Regions from separate parts of the Homo sapiens genome. Here regions 1, 2 and 4 are each linked to region 3. Evidence: promoter capture Hi-C in human tissues and cell types (Jung and others, 2019). All regions are on one chromosome and are shown on one strand. The core of a region is centred on a gene start or on the middle of the fragment in contact, and the rest is flanking DNA. Distances in the headings are between cores, read along the strand shown.

Evidence for each region. Contacts are between HindIII fragments. The study calls those that stand out against the background at their distance.
Region 1: a contact is called between a fragment that was not itself captured here and the fragment with the promoter of NDRG1 in region 3, in 1 of the 25 tissues and cell types used here (IMR-90 fibroblasts).
Region 2: a fragment that was not itself captured here is called in contact with the fragment with the promoter of NDRG1 in region 3 in 2 of the 25 tissues and cell types used here (heart left ventricle and thymus).
Region 4: a contact is called between a fragment that was not itself captured here and the fragment with the promoter of NDRG1 in region 3, in 4 of the 25 tissues and cell types used here (adrenal gland, bladder, heart right ventricle and 1 more).

Annotation. Positions count from the first base shown.
Region 1 is chr8:133,035,216-133,042,146 of GRCh38, forward strand. All of the region lies in intron 41 of TG (thyroglobulin), which reads left to right. It overlaps SLA (Src like adaptor), which reads right to left. Exons shown (of 9, transcript NM_001045556.3): 8 at 4,783-4,915; 9 at 1,513-3,522. The coding sequence ends at 3,309. Among named protein-coding and RNA genes, the nearest start is that of MIR7848, 7.9 kb to the right of the region's middle. The HindIII fragment of the contact is 3,127 bases long and covers 1,665-4,791 here.
Region 2 is chr8:132,942,364-132,948,347 of GRCh38, forward strand. The region is part of intron 26 of TG (thyroglobulin); the gene reads left to right. Among named protein-coding and RNA genes, the nearest start is that of TG, 78 kb to the left of the region's middle. The HindIII fragment of the contact is 6,430 bases long and covers 1-4,543 here.
Region 3 is chr8:133,292,825-133,299,171 of GRCh38, forward strand. It overlaps NDRG1 (N-myc downstream regulated 1), which reads right to left and starts at 4,428. Exons shown (of 16, transcript NM_006096.4): 1 at 4,310-4,428. RefSeq lists an enhancer at 913-2,112 and a silencer at 4,309-4,758. The HindIII fragment of the contact is 13,971 bases long and covers 1-6,347 here.
Region 4 is chr8:132,814,928-132,821,698 of GRCh38, forward strand. PHF20L1 (PHD finger protein 20 like 1) reads left to right here. Exons shown (of 21, transcript NM_016018.5): 11 at 1,961-2,149; 12 at 2,412-2,618. Among named protein-coding and RNA genes, the nearest start is that of PHF20L1, 43 kb to the left of the region's middle. The HindIII fragment of the contact is 4,931 bases long and covers 114-5,044 here.

The sequences.
Region 1 (6,931 bases), core at 1,978-4,477, 260 kb before region 3:
AAGTAGCAATATGTCATTTATTTATAACATTTTATTTATTGCATTATTTTCTTCTTAACCTAAGGATTTGTTTTTTAGACTTTAGATCCCTAGAATTTTTAAATTTTTATTCATCATTTTGGAATTTGATTTCCAATTTTATTGCTTTATTATCATAGAGCATGAATTGGAAGATTCTGACTCTGAAATTTATTAGTACTTTCTCTGTGACCTAATACATTATCCATTTGTTGGCAGAAAAGTTATATAGTGTTATCAAAATCTATCTACCTATTTATTTATTTACTTATCTTTGCTTACTGTATCAATTTCTGAGATTTGTATATTAAAATCTCCAAATAAAATTATTGACTTATCTATTTGTCCCTGTTCAGTTGCTTAATATATTCTGAAACTATATCATCCCATTAACATAGGTTGCAATCATTGTTTCTTCTTAATGTTTTGTTCCTTTTGCACATCTCTCTTTGCCATTATGCAATTTATTTCACCTTAAATCCCATTTTGTCTCAAAATGCACCACAGGTTTTCCTTTTGTTCATTTTTGCATTAAAATTTTTTGCCCCTTTATTTTCAAACTTTGTGTGTCAATAGACAATACAATGCTGGAATTTTAAAGATTTGTCCTCCACACAGCATGATCTTTTAAACATATCAGTGAAATGGTCTTACCCCCTACTTGGATCCTTTCAATGGCTCCTCATGTCTCCTGGAATGGACCCTATGCCATCCCCTACCCTCTAGGGCCCTGCAGGACCTTCCTGATACCTCCTAAGCACACTCCCTCCTTCCCTAGCTCCCTCAGTCTGGCCACCCTGCCTCCTTTTAGCTCCTTCAGCATGCAGTCTTGCTCTTCCTGCCTGCAGGAATTGCCCCATTATTCCTGCTGACTCCATACACTTCCTAGATCTTTACAAGGCTGTTTGCTGCTCATCTTTCAGGCCTCAGCCCAAACATTGCCTCTGCTTGGAGGCCTTTCCTAAGCCTGGACCTGAAGGATGTCCTGCCTGCCAGGTGACTGCTTGGAGCCTGCCCTCATCCTCATCACCATCATTACCAAGCATCTTGTTTATTTATGATGTCAAGCTCCATGATATCAGAGACCTCATCTGGTTTTCATTGCTATAGCCCCAGTACCTGAGCAGTGTCTATTTAGTAGGTGTCCAGAAATATCTGCAGAAAGAAATTCTTGGAAGAACAAATAGCGCAGCTATCACAAGTAACGTGCAGAAAATCTAGGCAGGACGTTTTTATAACAATCGTTCAGAATTTGGTGTTTCCTTCAATCCCTTAGGCCCATCTTCAAGTTTCGTAAGACACCCCCCAGAGTCATACAATCTGCTTTTTCTTAAGGTCACACCTAAAGAAGATGCTGAGCTGCTAACTGGCACCAGGTTTCTCTGGGTGATCTTTACTCCTCTCTCTCTAGTTGCACGTTTATTTGAAAATTTGAAACCCACTGAGCTTCTGAATGAACCACCCATCCTCCTCAACCCAGAAACTCTCCCTGTGTGCCAAGGGTTAAATATTTATTAGGTTTGTTTTAATCAGGAATAAATACATGATTTAGCAAAGTGTAATGCTTCCCACTGAGAAATCCCTCTGGGTGCTCCCCAAATGTTCCAATCACATTCGTCACAACGGAAAACAACACATAAGATACTGTGCAGACATCTGGAGTTCAGGGGGTCACCCTGCCTTATGCGGGAAGTCAATGTCCACAGTGTTACATTCATTTCTCATACGTTGGCTGGTTCCTTTGAAATAGCCTTTTGGAACGGTTGGGGAAACCACAGATGTCTCCTTGTATAAACACACTAGAATCTATGATACAGAAAACTGTGTAACTGCACATACACATACCAGTAGCACGATGAGCTCAGATGGACGGAATGCTTATGTGAGCAGACAGACAGGGAGAGATACTGCAAGCATGTTCCCCTCCTTCCCCAGGATCCCTTTGAAACAGGGAAACATGAGTCACAGATTCATCTGCAGCCCACTCTCTTCCTAGTAGGATTTGGATGGGAGCTTCTCCTTCTCTGGCTATACATTGTGTTTTCTCCCTTGTCTCTTAAAATTATGCATGACATCATTAATCCACTTGGACTCCCCATCTTTCCTGGAGCTGAGCATTTTTCCTCATATGGATGCCAGACCCTTCTTAGAATAAAGTACCGGGTGAGTTAATTCTTTAGACTGTATCCATTTCTTTTCTAAAAAATCCAGCTATTCTTACCTACCCGATCCAGCCAGCCCTTCCACTCTGAAGAGCAGCTGGAAAATGAGCTCCTGAGTGTCCCTCACCTGTCTCTAATTCCATCCTAAGCCATGAGCTGATTTCTCTTTTTACACATTTGTTTATACATTTTTTCCCTGTCTACACTGTGAACACCTCTGTTGGGGGTTAGGACTTACGCATCTTTTTTTTTTTTTTGGCTTGCCTGACACCTTACAGAGGACTTAATGCAATGCCTATTCGGGCAATAAATGAATACTTGATGCATTCATACAGGCAAGAATCCCAGCATCCCAGAGAAGCTCTGTCTGCGCTGCAAAGCCATGGCTGCAGACATCAGGGAAGCTGGTGCAGTTCTAGTCTCGCCTCCTCGATTTCCCTGCCAGCAGTCTTCCTCTCTCTCATTCTTCTGGCCCTCTGCAGAACCAGGGAGGCCAACTGACTTCCACCCATATGGCTTTGGTGCAGGAGCAGACCAAAGGTATCTCCCAATTGAAGGCTAAGAAGTCCTTTGGGCTAATGTTTAGTGTCACGAAGTTCCTTTAAAAAGAGAGGAAAGCATACCAGAAGTCCCTATGGATTAGTTAAAGTAGTTCCATTCAGGGCACCCATCTGCAAACCCAGACCTTCTGCCAGGACACAGCTTTTGTTTCCTCTCCCTCTCAGGCTTGCCCATACAGAAGTTCTCTCCAATGACCTTGGAGTGTAACTGTCTGGACAGGTCCAGTTCCTTGGAGAGCAGTCCTGGTGCCCTTTCTTGTGAGAGTGGCTTTGTCCTTCCCACACACACAATGTGTGCATACATACATGCTGGGCTCTTCCAAGCATCGCCCGACATGTCATGATCCAATGTTTCGTGATGCCACAGCCCTGATCAGACACCAGGGAGGGGTTCCTTTGGTCATGATGTGGATAGAGAAGATGCGAATTTGAGTCTCCATGTGGCTTCTCTTGGCTTCTAAAATACGTGAGGCTCCCAGGGATCAGGGAACCTCGCTTTTCGCAAGATCCCAGGCAATAGTTGGAACTTCTGTTCCTTTTGGGCATGAACCATTGTGTCTGTTCTTGGCTAGTCCTCAAAGTAAGGTGGTGATGAGAAGAATGAGCTCTTTCTCTTGCTGCCACCATACATCAGGGAGATGCTTTTCTTCTTTCGATCAAAGGAGGTGTTGTCCTCACTGGTCAGGGACAGGTAAGAGGCAATGCTCTCTCGAAGGCCATAGCTGAAAAGGGACTCGTCTACCCCAAGCGGGTTCTCTGTTCCCTCGGGGTCCTCCTGCAGTCTGTGGGCCAGAAGAAAAGGCAGTAGAGAAAGGGAAAAAAAGAGAGTCATAGAGAGAGGAGGAGATAAAGGGCAAGAGAATGAGAACAGGAGGAAAAGAAAAACAAAAATCCTGGTGACTATTTCTCTAACTTATTATTATTTTTCTTTATTTATTTTAAGATGGAGTCTCGCTCTGTTGCCCAGGCTGGAGTGCAGTGGTGCAATCTCTGCTCACTGCAACCTCTGCCTCCCAGGCTCAAGCGATTCTCCCTCCTTAGCCTCCTGAGTAGCTGGGATTACAACCATCCACCACCACGCCCAGCTAATTTTTTGTATTTTGAGTAGAGACAGGGTTTCACCATGTTGGCCAGGCTGGTCTCAAACTCCTGACCTTAGGTGATCTGCCCACCTCAGCCTCCCAAAGTGCTGGGGTTACAGGCGTGAGCCACCGCGCCTGGCCCTAACTTACTATTCTAGTTATTACCCTAACCTATTACTCTAACTACTCTAACTGCAATTATTCTAACCCATTATTTTAATTCTGGTTCTTACATTTGTGGGCTGTGTGATCTTGGACAAATCACTTAACCCGTCTGAACTGCTCTTTTCTTGGATGGCTGACACTTCCAGCTGTAAATTTTAGTAAAAATTAATTTTTGTTATTTACAAGAAAGAGCAGTTTTCTTCATGTCTCGCATAATTTTGATCCTGATTTTCTTTGATTTGCCAATGGGATGTCTGGATTGATACTGAATTATTAAGATAACCCACCAATCCCAAACTACAGATATCCTTTAAAATTCACAGGCTGACAATGGAATAAACAGAACAAATCCATGAAAGTTTTTTTCTCTTAGAAAAAACAAAGAAGTCACTGTAGGATTCTGCTGATGTGTTTAAGCTTTGTGAGTGGGTTTTAAATAATATTAAATTTACACAGGATGTGTTACTTTCTAGGATCCTAACAATTAGAAAAGGAAAAGTGGTATATTTCAGCTAGAATGTATATTGCTAGCATAGAATAAGGACTCAGTAAATGTTTGCAGAAACAGGGGGAGCTGCCACACACCTCGTGAGGCCTGAAGCTGCCCCTGCACCCAGGGATTCCCTTGGTCTACACTTGTGGGGGGTGCTCACCCCCCAGTTTCAGCAGGGCTGGCTGACTCTGGCCATGGTTTTCATGTGCTCGGCACACACACCGTTTTGTGCTCACATGTTCACAGAGCACTTGCATGCACACACACACACACACACACACACATACACACACCATACTCACCTGGACACTCTCCTCCAGTCCACAGTCTTCTGACGCAAGGTGACAGGTGAGCTGGAGGCCCTCACTGCTGGGGCAGCCGTGCTTTGTGTCAGGCAGGGCGTGGTGAGCACACAGCACAGGCCATCAGCCACCTCTGAGGAGGGAAGCAGACAGCCGGTCAGGGACCCTGGGGACGCCTCAGCCAGTGTGGGGTTCAGGCCTGAGACACTCTCCAGTGCAGCTCCCTGGCTGCTGCCATGGGGAACTGGGCCTGAGATTTCAAAGGGGCATGGTAGGTGGTGACAATGCTGAAAGTCACGCGCCCAGCTGTTTGAGAAATGTAAGCGTGCCCTGGTATACTCTGCACTTAGCCAGGCATGGGCAGAGAGAGAGGTTTAAGATCCAGTATCAACCAAGCTTGGGTTTGAATTTTAGCTTTACCCCGATAGTAAATTATCAAGAACGTCTCTGAGCTTTCCTTTCTTCAACTGCAGAATGAAAGAAATGAAGCAACAAGTGAGTGCCTGCAGAAGCCGCAGCCTTCCAGGGTTTCCCGCAAATGCCCAATCCATTAACCTCACAGGGTGTGAGAATGGGGCTGCATACAGCGCTGATCCCCCCAGTTGTGCATTTACAATGGAACAGGTGGACTAAATAGATCTCTAGGAAGAAAGATAAAAGAAACAATGAAAGAAGGAAGGAAAGGAGGGAGGGAGCAGAGGAGGAATGAAAGAGGGCGAGGAGGAAAAGCAAAAGTGAGAGGGAGAAGGAGGAAGAGGAGGAGGTGAAAATAGCACAAAAAGTAGAAGACACAGGAAGGGAGGGAAGAGAAAACAAAGATAAAGAGGGCAAAGAGAATGCAGACAAAGAATGAAGACAATCTCTCTTTCACTCTAGAAGCTCACGCACAAAAAGAATAAAAGTTAAATAAACCCGTTTCTTTTTTCTCTTGCATGAAAATCTCTGTATAAAATGTCTGACTCTCAGGATCCCCCATCTTTCCAGGCACATTACGATGTAGCTTCCGTCTCTTGGAAGGCTTCTCCCTAGCCCATGTTATCATGAGAAAGACTTGATTCTGCTGTACTCAGCCATCTTAGAGATTGAGGAAATTCTGCACAGTCTTACTCAGGCTGAAAACCCCAGTGCTTCTCCTGTGCCCTGGGGGGAGATGATGTGGTCAAGGGGGTGAGGTGCCACTGGCCTCCGGCAGGGCTAAGCCACCCCTGGCCTCAGAGCCAATCCACCACCAGGTTTTCGACAGCACGTCACACCTCTGACAGGCCCCACTTCCCATCGGGTTTATGGAGTGCTCTCTGGGGCATCCTTGCCAAAGAACAAAAGGAATTTGTAGCAGAAGAAGCACACTCAGTCTGTCACAGGGCGGGCAAGCCAGGAAGACCTCGTTTCATGGTTTTCAGTCCGACTTCAACTGTGAACTCAAATGTCCACCCACACAGGTGCCCTTGGAGAAATGGGAGGTGAGACCATGAATTTAGAGGGAGATTTAATCGGGTGGGAATCTGAAATAATGACCTGTCATGGGTTGGAAATTGAAATGACCTCCCAGGATATGAGGCGAGGAAGATGAAGTCAGATGCAAAGGCTGGAGAGATCAGCTGCAGTGTGCAGCACAGGCAGGGGACACTCCGTGAGTGTCCTTCCTTAGACAGGTTAATACTCAGGGTGAAAAATACATTTTGACAAAGAGCAAAAGAACCACCACTCATAAGCACATAACATGAGCCCAGCACTGAGCTAGCCTCGTACCCTGGATCTCATTGAGGCCTTGATCAGCTTGTGGTCAGTTTTTTTTTTTTTTTTTTTTTTTAGACGGAGTCTTGCTCTGTCTCCAGGCTGGAGTGCAGTGGTGTGATCTTGGCTCATTGCAACCTCTGCCTCCCAGGTTCAAGTGATTCTCTTGCCTCAGACTCCCGAGTAGCTGGGATTACAGTTGCATGCCACCACACCTGGCTAATTTTTTGTATTTTTAGTAGAGATGGAGTTTCACCATGTTGGCCAGGATGGTCTCAATCTCCTGACCTCATGATCCACCCACCTCAGCCTCCCAAAGTGCTGGGATTACAGGTGTGAGCCACCACACCCGGCTGTCAGTGTTTTTATACCCATTTTGGGGAGGGAAAAACTGAGCATCCCGAGATGAAGTAAC
Region 2 (5,984 bases), core at 79-2,578, 350 kb before region 3:
TTTATATGAAAACCAATCCTGTTTCTCCTTAGCAGCATCAAACTGTAAGCCACTATGTGACTGGTCACATTAAATTTATGAAAAATTCTAAAGATTAGAAAAAATTGAAATAGTCTGATATATCTTGTTATGGTTCTCACTTAAGTCAACAGGAGACTCCAATTGATCACCATATATGTGCAATGGAATGTTCTAGGCATTACAAACAGATAAAAAGGACTTTGGGTCTGGTGGGAGAGGCAGTGTGCACCGTGAAAGGGGAATAAATGGCCTTTACTCATTTATTCATCGCTGCTGGCGTTCAGCAAACATGTTTGGAGCACTACTCGGCATCAGGCTTGAGAACTAGGCAGTGTGCGATGCAAATGCCTGATGAGGTAGAGACGTAGAAGTCTTGGAGTGTGAAGGAAGAGGATAACAAGAGGAAGGTCAGGGAAGGCTTCCAGGAAGAAGAGGAACTTGGGCCAGGCTTTGTGGGATGAGCAGTACTTAGATGACAGAGTGGGAGGATTTGGTTCAGAGTGGGTGTCCTTGTGAGCTGAGCTAGAGACAGAGAGACCCCAGGTTTTCTGAAGGCTATTAACTGAGACATGGAGCTGATCAGGAAGCAGGTGTTTTTTGGTATCACCTCGAGGACTGTTGCTGCCTCCAGCATCTGCACAATATCCCCACCAGGCTCAGGGTAGAGGATGTCTCCTTCTGAGAAGGACTAACCCTGCCTCCTGGGTATAAGAGCCCCTTGTCTTACCTTTGCAGGCCCATGCCTGATACAATTTGGATGTTTGTCCCTCCTCATCTCATGTTGAAATGTGATCCCCAGTGTTGGAGGTGAGGCCTAGTGGGAGGTGTTGGGTAACAGGGGTGAATGGCTTGGTGCTATCCTCGTGACAGTGAGTGAGTTCTTCTTGCAAGATCCTTAAAAGTATATGCCACCTCCCCCTCTCTCTAACTCCTGATCTCCTGTAACATGCCTGCTCCCCCTTCACCTTCTGTCATGAATGTAAGCTTCCTGAGGCCTCACCAGCAGTAGATGCCAGCACCATGTTTCTTGTACTATCTGCAGAATCATGAGCCAATTAAATCTCTTTACTTTATAAATTACCCGGCCTCAGGTATTTCTCTATAGCATTGCTAGAACAGCCAAGTACAATGCCCCTGCCCTCCTCCCTGCTCTCCACCTGTCACCAGCCCAGTGTTTTCCAGGGCTCCCCAGCAGAAGGCAGATACATTGTTCTTAGCCCTTCTCCCTTCTTAAAATCCAACATGTGCATGGCACCACAGAGTCCATGACCTCCGACCTTCCCTCGAGTGCCTTTCCGGTTGCTCTCCTTCTCTACCACAGCCAGACCCTGCAAGCTGAGACCCTGTCTCACCCCCAAACTGCTTCTACCAGCTCTCCAGTCACCAGGGGCATCTTCTGATCCTCTGAAGGCCTGTTGTCTCTGGCAGCTGTCACTATTTCCTGCTGTCCAGTTATTTCCACCTTCTCCTCTCCTGACCTCCAAGATGCCCTTCTCTTGCTCCTTAAACTGTGCCTTCTCTTCTCCTTCAGCTTTCTGGGTTGAATCCTTAGATATTGATAGGTCCCACCTCCACCTCTTGTGGGTCTGTGTTCTGGGTGTGACCTCTCTGCAGAGGTCGACATCCATACACGCATCTGCTGTCCAGATATATCCTCTTGGACATCCGTTAGGAATCTCAAAGTCAAATGAATGGATAGTTTTTACCCTAAACCAGCCGATCTCAGTGAAGGGCACCTGAGCCACAGACCTGGGATCATGCTGAATGCCCCACAGCCCTCTTCCCTTCTGTGAAGCTGTCACTCCAATTTCCTGTTGCTCTCTTATTATTTTGTTTGAGATCGAGGTGTATTCCATCCCTGTCACCTCAGTCTGCATTTAAGCCTGTATTATTATTTTCTTGGCACCTGTACCAGTCTCTTAATTGGCCTCTCACCACCAACCCCCACTACTTGACTAGATTCCCCATCCTCCAAGTCATCCTATTCAACTTTAGGCTCTCCTTGTGATTTCCTCCTCCTGGAGTACTATTTTGTCCCTTCTTTTTGTATCCAAGTCCACATATCCATCTCCCTGGTGGATTCGAACTCCCCAGGCTATGAAAGAGTTATTTATCCTCAGCCTTTAGGACAGCCATGCTCACTGTAGGTGCAGAGGAATGCTGCTGAATTGGGCAGACCCCAAAGTGGGGAAGTGACCTGCCAGATGCCCGTGTTCCAGTGGTCAGCAAAGGGAACTTGGCTTTCCTGACTTATGACATAGACACTTGTGCTCTACTCCCCCTCCCACCCCCACTGTTTCCACCTCCTCCTCTCAGGTCCAGAGGGAGAAAAGGATAATTGTTAATTGCTAGACTCTGAAGACAAGTGAATATTGCATTGAAAACATGTAATAAGTCTTTTGCCCCATTCAGAGAGATAAATTAAGACTTTCCGAAATCTTGAATCATGTGTAGTTTAAATGAGATAAAGAGAAGAGGGAAGGTGATGTTAAATGGAAAGAATAGCATATGCAAAGTCCCTGTGGGAAGAGGGTGCAGGATAAAGAAGAGAAGCCTAGAGGAAGCCGTGGTCCCTGGAGCAGAGAGTACAAGGCCAGAGGTTTAAGGGGCGGGAGGGAGAGGCCAGGCCACAGTGAGGAGAACCTTGTAGGCGGCATGAATAGTTGTTTTTATTCTAATAACGACTGGAAGCCACTGAATGTTTTAAGCAAGGAAGTGTCATGATCAGATTTGAACTTTGACGTGAGCGCTTGTCATGTCATGGCTTGAATGTGGAGAAGGTTGTGGCTAGGGGTCAGAGTAGATGCAGAGATGAGTTAGAAACTGTCGCAGTAGTCCAGGGTAGAAGGTATGGTATCCTGGGCTAGGGCTATTGCAGTGGAGAGGGGGAATAGAAGACAGATTTAAAGCATCCCCAGGAGGCAAATTCAATAAGACTTTGAATTTGGGGGTTGAGGAAGAGGTGTCAATGATTATTCTTGGGTATCTAGCTTGTTCACCTGTTGTGTGGCAAAGAATGAAAGAGATTGGATGTCCAATTTGGCGATGGGAGAGGGAGATTTAGGAAGGCCGTGGGTCCATGTGGGGTATACTAAGTTTGAAGTGACTTTTGAGACATCCAAAAAATGTCAGCTGAGTTTTTAGATGCAAAGATCGAGAGCTCAGAAGGGAAGTGTGGATGGGAGATATAAATGTGTAAATTACAGCTTCGAGGTGGTATCAAATGTGTGGATATGAATGCAGTTTTCTAGGAGGAGGGTGCAGAATGAGGAGATAAAGGGGGATGGAGCTGATCTTGATGAACAGCTACATAACAGGTAGAGAATATGCAAAGAGATAGAGAAGGAGCAGCCAGAGGGGGAGAAGGAGATGGGGATAGTGGATCCTCGCGAAAGCTAGGGTGGGAGAGCGTTGCATGGTGAGGAAGTTGTCAACAGTCTTGAGTGCTGCTGAGAGTTCAAACAAGGTGATTCCTGAAAAATGCTGAGTTTAGCTCACAGTGGTTGAGGTGGCTAAAATGAGAATGTTTTGTTGGAGTGGTGGGGCAGGAACACAGATTGGAATGAGCTGATTCCTAAAATTCCTTCTACATTTAATGTTCTATGATTATGTGATGTGGATTCCTGTTAGTGTTTAGATAGGAAAAATATGTTACACACACACACACACACACACACACACACACACACCCTATATTTGTCTTGATGTATATCTATATTTAGAAACAACATAACTCAAATCCAGGATTCCTCTTTGAACTAAATGTATTTTCTGAAGATACCACAATTTCCCCAGATGCACAATGACTCACCAGACCATATGATTTTTTTCAAGCTGGAAAGGTTGATTTCGTTTTCCTTAGGATCATATATGGAAGAATGTTTTTGTTCCATGGAGTGGTAAGCCCACAAAATCCTTTTTTTCCATGATATTTCTGGCTGGCAGCTTGCTTGCTTTTCCCTCCAAGTTTAACCTGTGATCTGTGAATTATGTTGAACTAAACACTCACCTCGCAGTGCTGAAAGTCAAGCCTTCTTTGAGATACACATAAAGTATCGGGCAGATGTTTTCCCCAGTCTTGTCCAGTGGGCAAATCTGGAGTTTTAACTTATGAAGATTTGGCTGGATCTGCTGACGACCAGGAACAGAATTCCACTACATCCTTTACCACAGTCTGGAAAGTCATTTAGCTCTGGTGGATTCCCCTCCTTCCCCTCCTTTCCTTTCTCCCCTCCCAACAAGTCTCTAGCCTCCTCCAATCTCCACCCCTCTAAGGCTTTGTTTCCACTGAGAGTTATTAATGAAAATTCATGGGGCTTCTGAACTACATTTTAGTGGAGACTGCTTGGAAGTGGGGCTCTGAGGGCCTTGAATGGCCTCAGGGTCACAGGAGTGCAACTGAAGCTAAGCTGGCAATGTATGACCAGCAAAGTGACTTCCAGCCTCTCCCTGGCCCCTACCTCTCAGGCACAGCCTTCTCAGGGACATTTGGCACTAGTTAAAGAGGAAAGCTGCATGGGTTTCTCTACTGAGGTCTGAGAGCAAAAGGAAAAACGCACTCTGCCTCTTGTTAATTCCATCATTCTGTTTCCTGGCTTTCAAGTGAGCCAGACCACAGTGATCAGCCTTCCTCGAACTCTCCTGGGCTCTGAGTGTGCCCCTTGCTGGTGCTGCCCTCACGTTCCACAGCCGGCCCTCAAGCCTGCACCTTGCTGAGGCTCTTGCTGCCTGCTGGCCATTCCACAATTTCTTAGCTCCTAGACAAACCATTCTTCCTTTCTGTGCCTCGGTTTCCCCATCTGTAAAACGAGGTGGTCTAACTAGGTCAGTGATTCTCCATGGTGCTCTTTACAAACATGTATGTCCAAATGCACCCCGCCCCATACACGTGACCTACCAAGTCAGAAACTCTGTGGTTGATACCTAGAAATGAGCATTTTCAAAACCCTCCCTGCATTTCTGATGTCATCAGTCTAAGCATCCTTGTTCAGAAACCACCATATGAGATGACCTGGAAGGCCACTTAAAAAAATTCAGAGATTCACTGCTGCTGGTTTTTTAACTACTGCAGTTTAACAGTGGCCAGCAGAAGAGAAAAGGACACAATGTGAAATTTTTAAGCCAGACATCCATGAGTCACCTACTCTGGGGAAATTTTGGAGATAGAATTGTTTTGAACTAGATCCAGATTGGACATAAATTAGGAAATTAGAATGAGGAATGGAGTAGGAGTTGTGGGATAATATATTGCCCTTTTTTTTTTTTCCAGGAGAGTCTGAACAACTCTACTCCCTAAAAGGTTTATTTATCCAAATGGCATAGATATAAATTTATAAATCTGAATATCCTCAAGCAGCTTAATTAACTTACATGAGACTCAGTTTCCTCATCAGTAAAATGGAGATAATAATGTCTATAAGAATTAAGGGAATTAATATACTTAAAGACTTACCACAGTGGCTGGCACATAGCAGATATAAAAAAACGTGTGAGTTACTTGAATGTATCCAGCTAAAATCACTATCAAATTCGATTACCTTGGGAGTAGGTCTTTCTGATGCTAAACAAAGTCATAATTTTTGGGTAGCTTTTTAAAATTCAGAGTCAGGAGACATATTCAAGATAAAAGAGTCCAATGTCATCTCCCCTAGTTACAGATTTCTCTCCACACATCCTAGGCATATGGACACACAGTCTCTGCTTGGATATGTCCAAAGACGAGGAGCTCACTTCCTAACAGGGAAATATGTGTCATTGGTGCATAGGTCTTAGTTTTTAATAGTTTCTTACTCCGTCCCCCCCCAAAAAAAGTTTCTTACTTTGAATCTAAGTACTCCTTTATGAGACCCTTCAAGGTTGATCTTGTGTGTGTGTGTGCATGTGAGAGAGCGAGAGCAAGAGCGAGAGTGAGCGAGAGCGAGAGTGAGAGCGAGAGCGAGAGAGAGAGAAAGAGAGAGAGTGAA
Region 3 (6,347 bases), core at 3,178-5,677:
CTGCTGGGGAGGGCACTCAAGGCCCCCAGACTGTTAAGGAGCCTCACTTTCTACCAGCTCAGTTGCAAGAAAACCCGCTGGACTCAAAAGGTCAGAGATGGAGCCCAGGCAGGTAGGGCATAGGCAGGTCTGCAAACAATGTTAGGTGGGAAAGTCAAAGATCTGGGTCAAAGAGACCTGCTTATGGCCCCGATTGTGTAATCCATTCCCATTCTGTAGTGCTGGGGCTTACGCCCCACCCGAGGGAGCCCAGGTTTCTTTTCACATGGCCCCCACCCCGAGAACACGGCTCCAGGTTGGCACCTACTCATGGCCCTCTACCTCTGCAGCCGCCTTCCTGTGGGGCCTCAGTGTCCCCAGCCCTTCTGCCTACCTGCCTGGGCTAAGTTCTCAGCCAAGACCGCTATCTAGCCTGCCTCTATCTCCAAGTTGAAAGATAAAAAGCAAGTGGACACGCGGTACTTCCATCACACAGCCATCAAGGGAGGCAGGAACAACAGCCTGGGGTGGATCCAGGAAACAAGCTCCTTCTCAAAAGGTGGGCCCAGAGGGTGTGGGTGGCCTCCAAGCGCAATGTTGGAGGGTGGAAAGGGCTCAGGAGGCTCACCTTGGGCAGAACCCCACTCACTGGACTCTGGACAGAAGAGTCACCAGCCTGAGCCTCAATTTTCTGACCTGAGAGGTGGAAAGAATGTCTTCTACCTCAGTTAGCTGATGTGATGCATTGAACCTCCAAGGCACTATAGCAAACAAGAGCTATTTACTGAGCACTCACTAATTCCCTGGCACTGTGGACACAGGGTGGCCTGAAGGTACAGCGGCATGTATGACTACACCTTCCTTCTTCTCTCCCCTGTCATTCCAGAGCAGAGGTTCTCAACTCTGTCTGCCTGCAGGATACCCCATTCCCAACCCAGCCAAAGGAGCTTTGAAACAACAGCATATCCCCTGATGGAGAGAGAATCGCAGGAGACCGGGCCTGGAAATGTGCATTTCAGACAAGATTTTCATGACACTATTATGCAACCTACATAAGCTTAGCAAAAAGCAATACCTAGGTCAAGCATTTGCAGGCACTTTCACAGCCTTGGGTAGGTTTAGGACAAAGGGTCCCAGACTCTGCCTGCCAAGAAGATGCCTTGAGAATGTCTTCTGCGGGTGCTACTGACGGCAAACACCTACACGCTGTTTTCCACATGCTCAGTGCTGTTCTCAGGTTACACAGATTAATATTTACACATTCTGATGGCATCATGTCTGTTACTCTCATTTTACAGAAAAGCAAACTGAGGCATGGAGCTCCTGACTGCCTTTTCATTTGAGCCTGATTTCTTCAGGCGCCCCAACATGTTGTCATGGAAAAAAAACAAAGGCTCTGAAGTCCAACTGTCCGGGTTCAAAGTCTGGCTCTCCCACCTGAGCCATATGGCAACAGGCAAATCCTGAAACTCTCCTGGCCTCAGTTGCCTCATCCATTCAATGGAGCAATACGATCCAGGCAACGTTCTTGCGAGGATGAAGGCAGATGGAGGGAGACAGTGGCTGCTCTGGAGGGAGAGAGATGTCGTGTCCCTCCCTGGCCTTCCTTCCAGGCTGAGTCAAACCTGAACCCTGCTTGAGTCTCAGATGCTGAGTCATCACGCTTTCTCTCCCAGGACAAGGCCTCTGAGTCACATCTGGAATGGGATTCTCTGGGGTTGGGTCCCAAGGAAGAACTGCAGCTTTGGGCCACCCGAAAAACACAATGCTATCTTTCTTTCAGGTCCATGAGGAGGCAAGTTCAGGCCAGCGGATTTCAACGTAACCCAGGGGGGCCCTCAGCTCAGTTGAGATCTGTCTTCTGTCATGGGGGGGGGGCAGCCCCATTCAGTCAAAGGCCAACTCAGGGGGCTGCAGCCTCTAAGCCCCTGCCCTTCAGGCTGGCTTTGCTAATCTCTCAAGAACACCTGATTTACACTTAAAAAAAATCATTCCGCTCTGCCCCTTTGGCCTCAAAAGTTTCCTCACCAGAAATTCAATGAAGATGCAATTTCCTTTCGCCCCTCCATAGCAGGCAGGCAAAATCCTGCCAGGAACCCTTTCCACTGCCTTCAGTCCCACCCAGGAGCCTCTCACAAAGCTGAGCTCCAGCTCAGTTCGGCCTGGGCACATCCCTCCCCATCCCTGTGCCTCATTTTCCATCTGTAAAATGGAAAGAAGTTGGACTAGGTAGGTCCTGTGTGAGTTTTTTATTCCATTCCAAATGATCAAACTTTGTTGCTCCAAAAGAACTTCCTCACAAGAGACCCAAACAGACACTCCAGGATCCCTCAAAAGCAAAAGCCAACACCTCCACCCATGCACAGTCTATTACCTCGCCCGAAACTCAACCTGCTGGTTCACAGGAGAATGGGGCAGAAGACCCAGAGCCATCCACTTCATCCCATGTGCATATTTCAACTCCTCCCACCTGCCAGGCGCTGGGCCAGGGGCCAGGTTACAGGGCAGGGCAGGCAAATCCTCCTCCTTGCCCAGATGCAGTGGGAGACACGGTCCCACAAAGCTAAGAAGTCACAGGTCAGGGGAACACCCAGTTTTCCATCCACACCAAAACCCTCTCTCTCCCTTACACCTTCCTTCATCCCCGACACTGTGCCACCCCAGCCTGGGGCTGGCTCTGCCGCCACACACACCACACAGAACCGGTCTGCGTCTCCAGCCGTGTGTCTTCCCCACCAGAAGGCAGCCCTTCCAAGAAAGGCGCTGGGGTTTGCCCCCTCTGTACCTTGCTTATTTCAATCACATTTGTGAAACTCAATAAGAACGCCAGAATTTCTCAACAGGAAGAGTCTAGACTGAAAAATTCGCCTTGAAACTACATTTCTGCAGCAAGAACAGGGGGTTTGTATTTAGATATGTTCTTTTGAGGCAGCTTAGGAGAAGGTCCCGTGCAGCTGATGGGTATTATAAGGATGTCTACCGCCCTCCTGCCTGGCCACTGGCTGACTTCTGAATATTAGATATTTCCCAGTAGCTTAAAGAAACCAAACAAACTGAAGTGCCCCCAGCGTCCGTGAGGAAGGGGTGTTCTTGGATGGGCATAAGATAACCAAGGGCCCTGCCTCCCCCACCCACTGCCAGGCATCTCCCACTTCCAAGCCACAGAGGCGTGCTGTTCAGGACCCCCAGGGACAGCAGGGACAACAGGCGGGGGATATGGGGGAGGGGTGGGTAAGGAACCGACCCACTAAATCCCAGCTCCAGCTACTAATTTGACAGAGGCGTGACAGCGTGTTTCCCCCAGAACCAGCCGCATTCCCCAAGCCCAGCCCGAAATCTCCTCCCGAGGCTGAATCAGAGACCGCGGCGGATCCCCCAGGAACGTCGAAGTAATTCCAGCTGTTTTCCCCCGTGGAGGGCAGGAGCGGCCAGCACCAGAGGCAGGGGAGGGGAGGAAAGCGGGGGAGGGTGGGCGGAGGCGAAAATGACGCCACTCCTAGCTCCAGCCAGCTCAAGGGGCCGCCAAATGTCCGCGAGACCCCTCTCGCCCAGGTCACTTCTCCCACGCCGCCGATGCGCCAATCCCGGGTTCCTCCGGGGGCGCACCCTGCCCAGTGGCGCTCGCAGACACTTGCTCCGGCTCGCGTGTTGCACTGTGACACACCCTGGACCCTCCCCCCACACACACGCTTACACTCACACATGCACACCGCCCTGTGTGTGCTACGGGACTGAAGCGCCACCAGCCTCTCGGATCCACACCCGTTCCCGACCCAGTCTGCAAGCCAGACACACCCACGCCCCCCTCTCCAGCCTCCTTGCCAGCGCCACTCACCTCTACCAACCCCTCATCTACACACTCGCGCGCAATCTCTCCGTTCCCAGACACAGACACACACACACACACACACACACACACACACACACACTCACCTAGTCCCTTCTGCACCCACGTCCAGCGCGCACCCCTGCCAGCGGCGCCAGCTGGGATTCGGAGACGACGCCAGGAAACGCTATCCTGGTATTTTTTCGGACCGTCTCATCGCCCCCTTCCCGACCTCCAGAACCCCAATCCCCAGCTAGGGGGGAGATGAATGGGACCCTGTCTTTTTTTCCTCCCTTTCCGTAATTGAACCCCCCACTTCAGCGGTGTCTGCACCCAAAGCCCCCTCGCGCCCGCGCCCCGGGGTGACCGCGCACTTGCAGCTCCGGGGCGCTTACTCCTGGAGTACGCGGGGCTACAAAGGGCGGTCCTGGCGCTCCAGCGGCACCGCACGGGCGGCCCCTTTCTGCTCCGCGTCGCGCCTGGGAGAAGAGGGCGCGGGCTTACCTAACGCGAGGGAGAAAGGAAAGGACGGTGCCGAGGCTGGCGGCCCAGCGCCCCGCGGAAGCCGAGGGCGGATGGTGAACTGACGAGCTTCAGCACCAGCTGGGAGCCAGGCGAGGTTTGTTTACGTCCGGGCGGAGGGCGACTTTATAGGCGCCGCGGCCCCGCCCCCGCGCCTCGCCCCTCCCAGACCCTCGCAGTCCCAGCACGCAGCCGGGACACACCCCTTCCCCGCTCCCTGCTCCCTCCTCCCGGGCGCGCCGGGCTGGGCTGGGCTCCGGCAGCGCGCGGCGGGCGCCCACTGGAGCCGCCGCCTGTTGCGCAAGCAGTCGTAGGGGCGCGGCCGGGAGGGGCATCGGGGCCCGGGTTGTGGGTCGGCTCTGCAGTCCCCTCCGAGTCCAGGGCCTCGGCCTGTGCAGCGGGCGCGTGTGCCCTGCCCGGAGGAGGCGTTTGTGTGCTTGTGCGTGTTCATGTGCGCGCTCGTGCGTGTGCATGTGGACTTCCTTGTGTCTCCGTATGGGCGGAGGCCCCCCATCTCTGCCTCAGAGTTTCTTCTAAGAGTCTCGTTGCGCCACGCCCTGAGCGACTCCCTTCACTTCCTGTAGGTCTCACCAGCTCGGCTCTCCAGCCGGATTCGGCTGCCTGCCCAGCAGCCGCCTTCGCTTTCGCCCGACAGGCTCCCTCCGATTCTCAGCCTTCCGTGTCGCCAAAGCTCTCGCTGAAATCCTCGCTCCCGTTTAATCTCGTCCATCTTGCCCACCGCCGCCCAGCGCTTACCCTTCCCCTCATCTTCCCAGTTCTAAGCACACTCACTGGACCTTGCCCACTGGGCTCTTCTCTCCTGCCCCACAAGCCCAGATGAGAGGATTCTCACCCCTTCCTATTCTGATTTCCTGAACTTTCATGACTCACCCTTTCCAACCTTAGCACCGTCCTGCTCTGCTGCTCTGTTTGTGCGTAACTATTGGCCTGCATGTTCCCATCTGGCCAAAGAAACCAGCAATTCTCAACCCCTACTGCATATGAGAAGTCCCAGAGGAGCCGCCAAATTAAAAAATAAATAAATAGATAGATAATAAAAAGAGAGAGATGGACTCCAGAACAGTTTAATCAGAATCTCAGGGGGTGCAAACCAACTGGGCATTGGGGTTTTTACAAAGCTACCCAGGTGGCTCCTGACGTGCAGCCAGGTTGAGAAGCACTGCATGGAGGAACATGATTTTATGAATAAAGGAAGTCTGACTCACAGCTGGCACCGTCATTGTCCTCAGGCCACCTGCCCAGCGTTGAATTTGCCACTGAGCCCAGGACCAGACCCAGGGCAAGCTCAGGTGACCCTCCCTGCGCCTCCACAGACACACACGCGCGCACGCACAACACTTCCTGCTGAATTGTAAACCTCTTTTCTGTGCCAACCCATGCTGTCCCCAAGGCAGGGGCCATGGCTTTCCCCTCTGATTATTAGGGCCAGTTTTGGAGAAGGGTTTTCTGGAACAAAAGAAATATGGAGAGGGGCAAACAGCACCTCTAGGACCCAGGACATCTGTGTTTCAGGCCTGTCTTTGACACTATCGATCACAAATCAACAAATCTGGGCTTCAGAATTCTCACTGGCAAAGGGAGAGGATTAGATTCAATGATCTTTCAGAACCTATCTAGTGCTAAAGCTCTGTTATTCTATTACAAATGACCAGTGTGAAGAACAGAGTTCCAGTGTCATGGGTTTTGCTGCTAGAAGAGTTTGGCTAAACTACAAAGTTTGGCTATTAGCTATGAAGTTTGGCTAAACTACAAAGTTTGGCTACATTCAAGAATGCCTTGAATGTAGGAGCACATTCCCCCACCCTAGAAAATTTAACATCTAGAATTAATAAGTGAATGAATGACCACTGGGCAGTCTTCCATTCTTTATGGATTTGAACTAGTTCAACTGCAGCATTCCCAGTGAGGGAAAATTTTTCTTATTTCAAATAAAATGTTGTGTCCAGGTAGAGTGGCTTACACCTGTAATCCCAGCACTTTGGGAGGCCAATGCAGAAGC
Region 4 (6,771 bases), core at 1,329-3,828, 480 kb before region 3:
AAGATACATTAAAAACAGTTTGATTGTAGTTATATTGTATTTTTATGAAGTTGCTTTTTAAAAACTCAAGTGGATATGATAGGGAAGGCTTGAAACTATTTCAGGGGCAAAAACCATAGACATTTCTTACTGATTTATTGCTTAGAGACTACTGCTGGTTGAGAATCCTTTCCATTTAATAACACAGATTCCACTGTAGTTTGACTCTCCTCAACTCATAATCCAAGCATACTGAGAGGCCTGATTCATTACAAAAAAAAAAAGTTATAAAAAGACCCAGGATAGCTATTTTTACTTAAGACTATTCCTGTAGATTTTTTGTCCCCACTTGTCTATAACTTTCCTCTGCAATACATTTTATTCATTCTTATTATAATATTTATAGTCTAGACTTCAGTTTAATCTTTTTAATGAAAAAAAAATGCCCCCATGATTGTATTTTTAAAGATTTTACTGTTTCAGTACTTCTAATTTTTCAAGAGTTAACGCAGTCTTTTTCGAAAACACCTTTCACATGGGTATATCTATCTATCTCCCTATATATCTGTATATATAAATAATACAAGATTTGTGTTGACCCTGAGTTTCTCATATTAGTTTAGTATCCTAAGTTGGAGACATGAATAACAGTTATTTGAAAAGTCAGTTGGTAAATGATGGTTTTTTTTGCTCTTTATGCAAAAAATGAAATACATGATCAGTTGAGTGAATATGACATGTTTCCTTATTCCATATTGTGTCTTCCAGAATAATCAAAGATGTTGGCATTCAGAAGACTTTTATCAAACTTATTAACCTATTTTCCTTCAGTTGCCATATTTTCTACTGAATCATTTTTTCATTTTGATCAGGTTTTGCTTTTTCTTTTTAATAGGTGGAAAGAATGGGAACATAATTCAATTGTTTTCCTAATAAGCTTCATTTCATTATGGCATTTATCATGAAATAGTGTCAGTAGTAGTCACTGGAATGTCATATGACATTAATAAACATTTTATTTTGGAAATTATATCTTGGTATTATAACCACAATATTATAGCAATTAAATTTTATTCTTTCATATTTTTAAGTTATCAGCATGTCTTTTTCGTTTTGATTGTAAAATTACTCTTAAATACCCAAACATCAATGTCTTTAGACTGTTCTTATTTCCTCTTTCTAAATTAACATGAATATATTGGCATATATAATCTTGCCTATTCTAGTCAAATGTGTTTGTATGCCATGTAGAAAGAAGATATCTAAAAGTGTGAGAGACATTTCCAAATATTTATATTATATTGCTAGAAGATGCCTAAATTACTTACCAAGTTGTTAAAAAACACAAGTACACAATGTCATAATCTTAAATATCCTCATTATTTGCTCACAATAAGTATACAAAGTTGTTTTTGTTCATTTTTTTTTTTTAATGAATCAGGCCCAGACATGTTTATAAAACTCCATTTGGGGGGGATGATGATGGGATAAAATTATTTACATTAGTGTAAAGTAAATCACTAACTCTATAATGTTGTATCATCTTTGTCCCTGCCTTTTTTTCCCTTAGAGTTTCTAGATTTGCAATGTAGCAAAAGGAATACATATATATATATTTTTCCTTATCTTTTGCTGTAAAGAGACTATTTTCCCGAAGGAAAAATGGCAATTTACACAACGATCTGCAATTAGAGAAATTAACTGTAGTCTGTCACTTGGGGGAGCTACTTGAAATTAATGTTCCATTTTATTTTCTTTTAGTTCTAGTAGAGTGTAGATTTTACAATTTTTGATTGACTCATTTTGAATGAGGGCACAATTTTTGCCTTTGATTACCTTTGGAACATGCCATTCCTTGTGGATATCTTATAACAACATCAGAGGGAAGAATATAAATCATTTTTTCCCATTTATCTCCTTAAATATTGTAAGATGCTCCTGGTATGTATCTGCTTCGTGAACATTGAAGATCTTTTTCTAGGTCCTCCACAGCCTGTGAATCCCCCTAGACCTTTCAAGCATAGTGAGCGGAGAAGAAGATCTCAGCGTTTAGCCACCTTACCCATGCCTGATGATTCTGTAGAAAAGGTTTCTTCTCCCTCTCCAGCCACTGATGGGAAAGTATTCTCCATCAGTTCTCAAAATCAGCAAGAATCTTCAGTACCAGAGGGTAATGTATATTGATTTCCTATAGAACCAAACATAAAAGAAGATAAAGAAAAAACTAAGAGATAAAGATTATTAAAATATTAAGATATTTCTGCTCTTATATCTTCTGGAGTTATAAGCACTTCACTTATTCTACAAATATTTATTGAGTGCCTTCTTTGTGCCAGGCACTGTTTAAATTATGTAACACTTTAATTCACAGTGATAGTAACTGAGCCATTTTATCTGTGTTAATATTACATTACACTCTTTATTTTGTGTAGTGCCTGATGTTGCACATTTGCCACTTGAGAAGCTGGGACCCTGTCTCCCTCTTGACTTAAGTCGTGGTTCAGAAGTTACAGCACCGGTAGCCTCAGATTCCTCTTACCGTAATGAATGTCCCAGGGCAGAAAAAGAGGATACACAGATGCTTCCAAATCCTTCTTCCAAAGCAATAGCTGATGGAAGAGGAGCTCCAGCAGCAGCAGGTAAAAGAAAAAAAATAAAGGCTCCTATAAGTAGATAAGTAGCTAGGCTTGCAGTTATTAGGTATAAACATTTTGAGGTTTAACTACATTATTTTGATTCCTATATAATTCCTTTTCATAAATACTTTAACATTTATAGGAGAGTTTCATCTCCGTTTTAAAGGTCTTTTGTGTGATCATTTTACAATCATATTCCCTGGACATACATGCTGCTTAACCTTGTCACTTGATCTATTTCCTTCTCCCTGCTTCTTTTTTATATATCCTTATTTCTACTAAATATAAATTATTAGAGCCAAGTATAGTTACAGGAATTCTTACTTTTGAAGCTGGGAAATACTTAATGGGATCAGTACTTTGGTTTAAGGATTTTGATAGAATTTAATATTTAAGAAACACTGAGCTATATGCCTGTATCTTAAATATAATTCCATATTTTGGGGCAGAATCCTCCAAATTGAATTAAATTTGCTGTAAAGTTATTTGAGGAGTGCAATATGTAAAATCAGCCATCCTTAATAACACATTTTTTGCATGATTTTGTGATATTTATTGTAGTTCGAAAGCATTTGGATGTGTATTTTACCAAGCTGATATTTTAAATCTAATAATATCTATTCATGTTTCCCTTATGTGGGTGCATTGTTTTATTTAGAAGTTTTTAAGAATTATAACCTGATCTAGAATACACATAAAATAAAAAGGCCAATACTAGTTACAAATGCACTTCTGGTAAATTACTGTTGGAACTAGATGTTTGAAGGAAGTCTGAATTTAGTTTGTTGTGAGTTGGAGAAAAACATAAGGCAGTTTGTTGATTCGTTACCAAGGGTGTTGGTGATCATTGTGTTTACAGGCGTCTTCCCTGAAACCATTTTATCCATTTTTTGGATGAAGCATAAAATGAAACTTATTCTTTTCTGGTGATGGCATGTATTGAAATAAAATGATTGAAGTAACATAAGAGACATATACTTATTTTTATTAATTTTTATCTTTATATAAAGGTTGAAGTTACTTTGTACATGATAATTCTTTATCATGTTTAAAAAAATAAAACAATACCCAAATGTGAATATTTGTAGATTTTGAAACATTTCCTGTAGTTTCTCAAATCAGATCTATTGTCTTTTGACTCTTGGTCTTTCCTTAAGATAATTAATTTTTCTTTTCCACTTTTCCACAAGATTTCCAAATTGTCATTGACCCATTGAGATACTTTTTTGATAAAGGTCTTATTCGGTTCTTTAACGATCTGGAATTTGTTACCGTACTGAATATATGAAAAATATGTTAAAGTTATAAGGTTGTATATACATTGGGAAAATTATTTTCAAATGTACATGTGAAAATATTTACATTTTTCTTTAAAAGTATTCTAATATTTGTAACAATATTGAAATATAGGCCAATATAAGTAACTGTGTAATAACTAAGAGTCTTACATTAACAGATTATATATCATAAAATATCAATGTAGTGATTGTGCATGGAAGTCCTTGACTTCGATGATTTTGCTTCTAACCAGATTATTAACTTCCTCTTTTCAGAATTTCTAGCATATTTGTGGCAATGTGGCTGACTACCTTAGAGGAAGGCACACGAATATTCTTTCCCTTTTTAAATATTAGCAGTAACTATTGGAAAAGTAAAATAAGTAAGATCGTTTTCTGGGAAAGTAAAAGGTAGAGAGGAGTTTAGCTATAATTTGAATTTGTGGAAGAGTAAGGATTATCTGGATATGATGAGCTTAATAGTACAGTAGCTGTCAACTTTAATTGATTATAGCAAGGAAATGCATAGTTTTAATTGTTAATTACTGAAGATTTATTAGAGGGTTGAACACAGTATTTGAATAGAGGGAGGTGAAATTCTCATTTGTTTCTGTGACCTCTTAATTTTTAGTTTTTGAGGAAAGTAGTGCAATTTAGGTCATGTTCTGACTGAACACCTTTTGATTACAACCTTGTGTGCCTGTCCCACGTGCATTGAAATTCTCGGTGGTCTCTATGCTTTTCTCCTTAACCTTTTTGTTATTCACCCTCTCTTGACTATTTTGCAGTATTTGTTATGCTTCTGTCTGTTCCCCAAGTCCTTTTACATCTAGAGCCAAAGTGCCAGGTTTTTATGTTTTTATTTCTCTGATACATATGTACATATATGCACATACTCATACACACATGTATGTTTTGTTGGTGTCCATATTATAAAAGTAAATTTTCTTACTGTTGAATTTTAAAACTGATAATTGAAAACATTCTTTACAGTTCGTCAGAGACATTTTCTGAGTTATTTTTGTCAAATTGAAACTCTTGGGGAGTTTAGAATGATGAGGGTGTTAGTTGCTAACTGTGAAATTGTTCAACATGGTTAGGTTTTTACTTTTGGGGGAGCAAGATAAATTCACACTGTTGAGTTTAGCATTTGATGCTGAAGGATTGATGAGATTTGCAGATAGTCCAATTATTATATACAACTTTTCTTAATTGTTTTCCAATAGAGATAATGAACTTGCAATAATCTCTCGTATGTTCTTCTGCTGGGGTGGATGCCCACATGTCTAGCCACTGTTAAGAATGCTATTGCTGCCTACATTACCAAACAAGTAATTGGTATCTTTGTAAAAATTGATGCCTTTGTTTTTATTTTACTATCAGGATGCTTTGTCACAGAGCCAGCCAATTTTAGATAAGGATACAGCCTCAGAAAATCTTAATTCTGTTAGTATCTGGGAGGATAGAGTAAATCAAGTTTTTTGAAAAGGGGTCTTTTGAAAAATACTCTTGGTTCAGGTTCTCACAGGCACCTTGGGCCAACAGTTATCTATTGCCCCTTGTCAACACAATTCTCTTTAGGTGGGAAGCACAGTGTGAACAGATGTGGAATCTGCCTTCTGGAAACTTAGAGTCTAGAAGGGACACAAAGCTAATAACTGAAATACAAATATTTAAAGCAAGATTAAGTGCCTGAATAGGTGTAAAGTACTCTTGGGTGTAAAGGAACAAAAGATTGCCCCAAGAGGCCTCTGGTAGAGCCTCTTAAAAACTCTGGAGAGACAAACCATCTGCCTTCTCTTCCTGCTTCCTTGAAACTCAGTTTTTCATCTATATGATGAGATTATAGTAGATGATGTCTGTGGTCACTTTTGGCTCTACAATGTTGATGTTTTACTTATCATTAATCAGGCATTTGATAGAGTCTATGTTTATTCCAAAAAAAGATTATGATGTAGGATTATTTTTGCTTAAAAACGTCAATTAAGATAGCCTTAGAGATGATAACTTATTGTTTGTAACCACTGTGAAGACAAAATTGGCATTAGTAGGTTGTATGCATATAATTTTGAGCCATTTTAAAAAGTTATTCTTGTATTAAAAGAAATACCTTTAGTAACCCATCTTCATTTTTTTTTTATTTTTTAGCAAATTAGTAAATAAGTTTCAAGGAGCATTTTCCTGTTTTATTGCAGCATGTCTTAGTTAGCATGGATAGGAATGTTGGCTTGACGTGGCCATGCAGAGTGTACCTTTATGTAACGTCAGGATGTCCATGAGCAGGTCCCCTGAGTTTTCGGGTAGCATTCGATGAAATGCATCAGGCTTTGCTTCAGTGTCATTCAAAGTCATCTTAGTTTTTGAATGAAATGTAGATGCAAGTAAATGTATTTACTTATTACATAGATACTTACATAGATACTATGATACTATCATAGATGAGATAGTTGGACTCTTCTTAGTGAATATTCTGTAGAGTGTTCATGAATTATATTATCGATTGGTTAATATAATCCATTTTATCACCAGTGAAAAACAGAAGTAGGTCATGGGGTTGGTCTAAGTATGGCAAAAAAGCATCTTGTCAGTTCTACCTCATCTGCCTGTGGTGGGTTTTGAAATGGCCTTCATTTTTATTCCAACATCTCACATCAACTTTACATTTACTATTTAAAAGTCTTTTTGTTTTAAATTGTTTTTCAGTTTATTTTCCAGATTCGTTCAAAACAAAACTACAGCTGGAGACTCTGTTGCCTCCACCCTCATACCAAATGTTCATGGCTTCTACAGAGCCTGGGGTTTCTATGGAGAGTCTCAGGGATTGCCTCTCTTTTTAGTCAGAAGAATCTGTAATGTTTAGCATACCAGAAGAGGCTTGA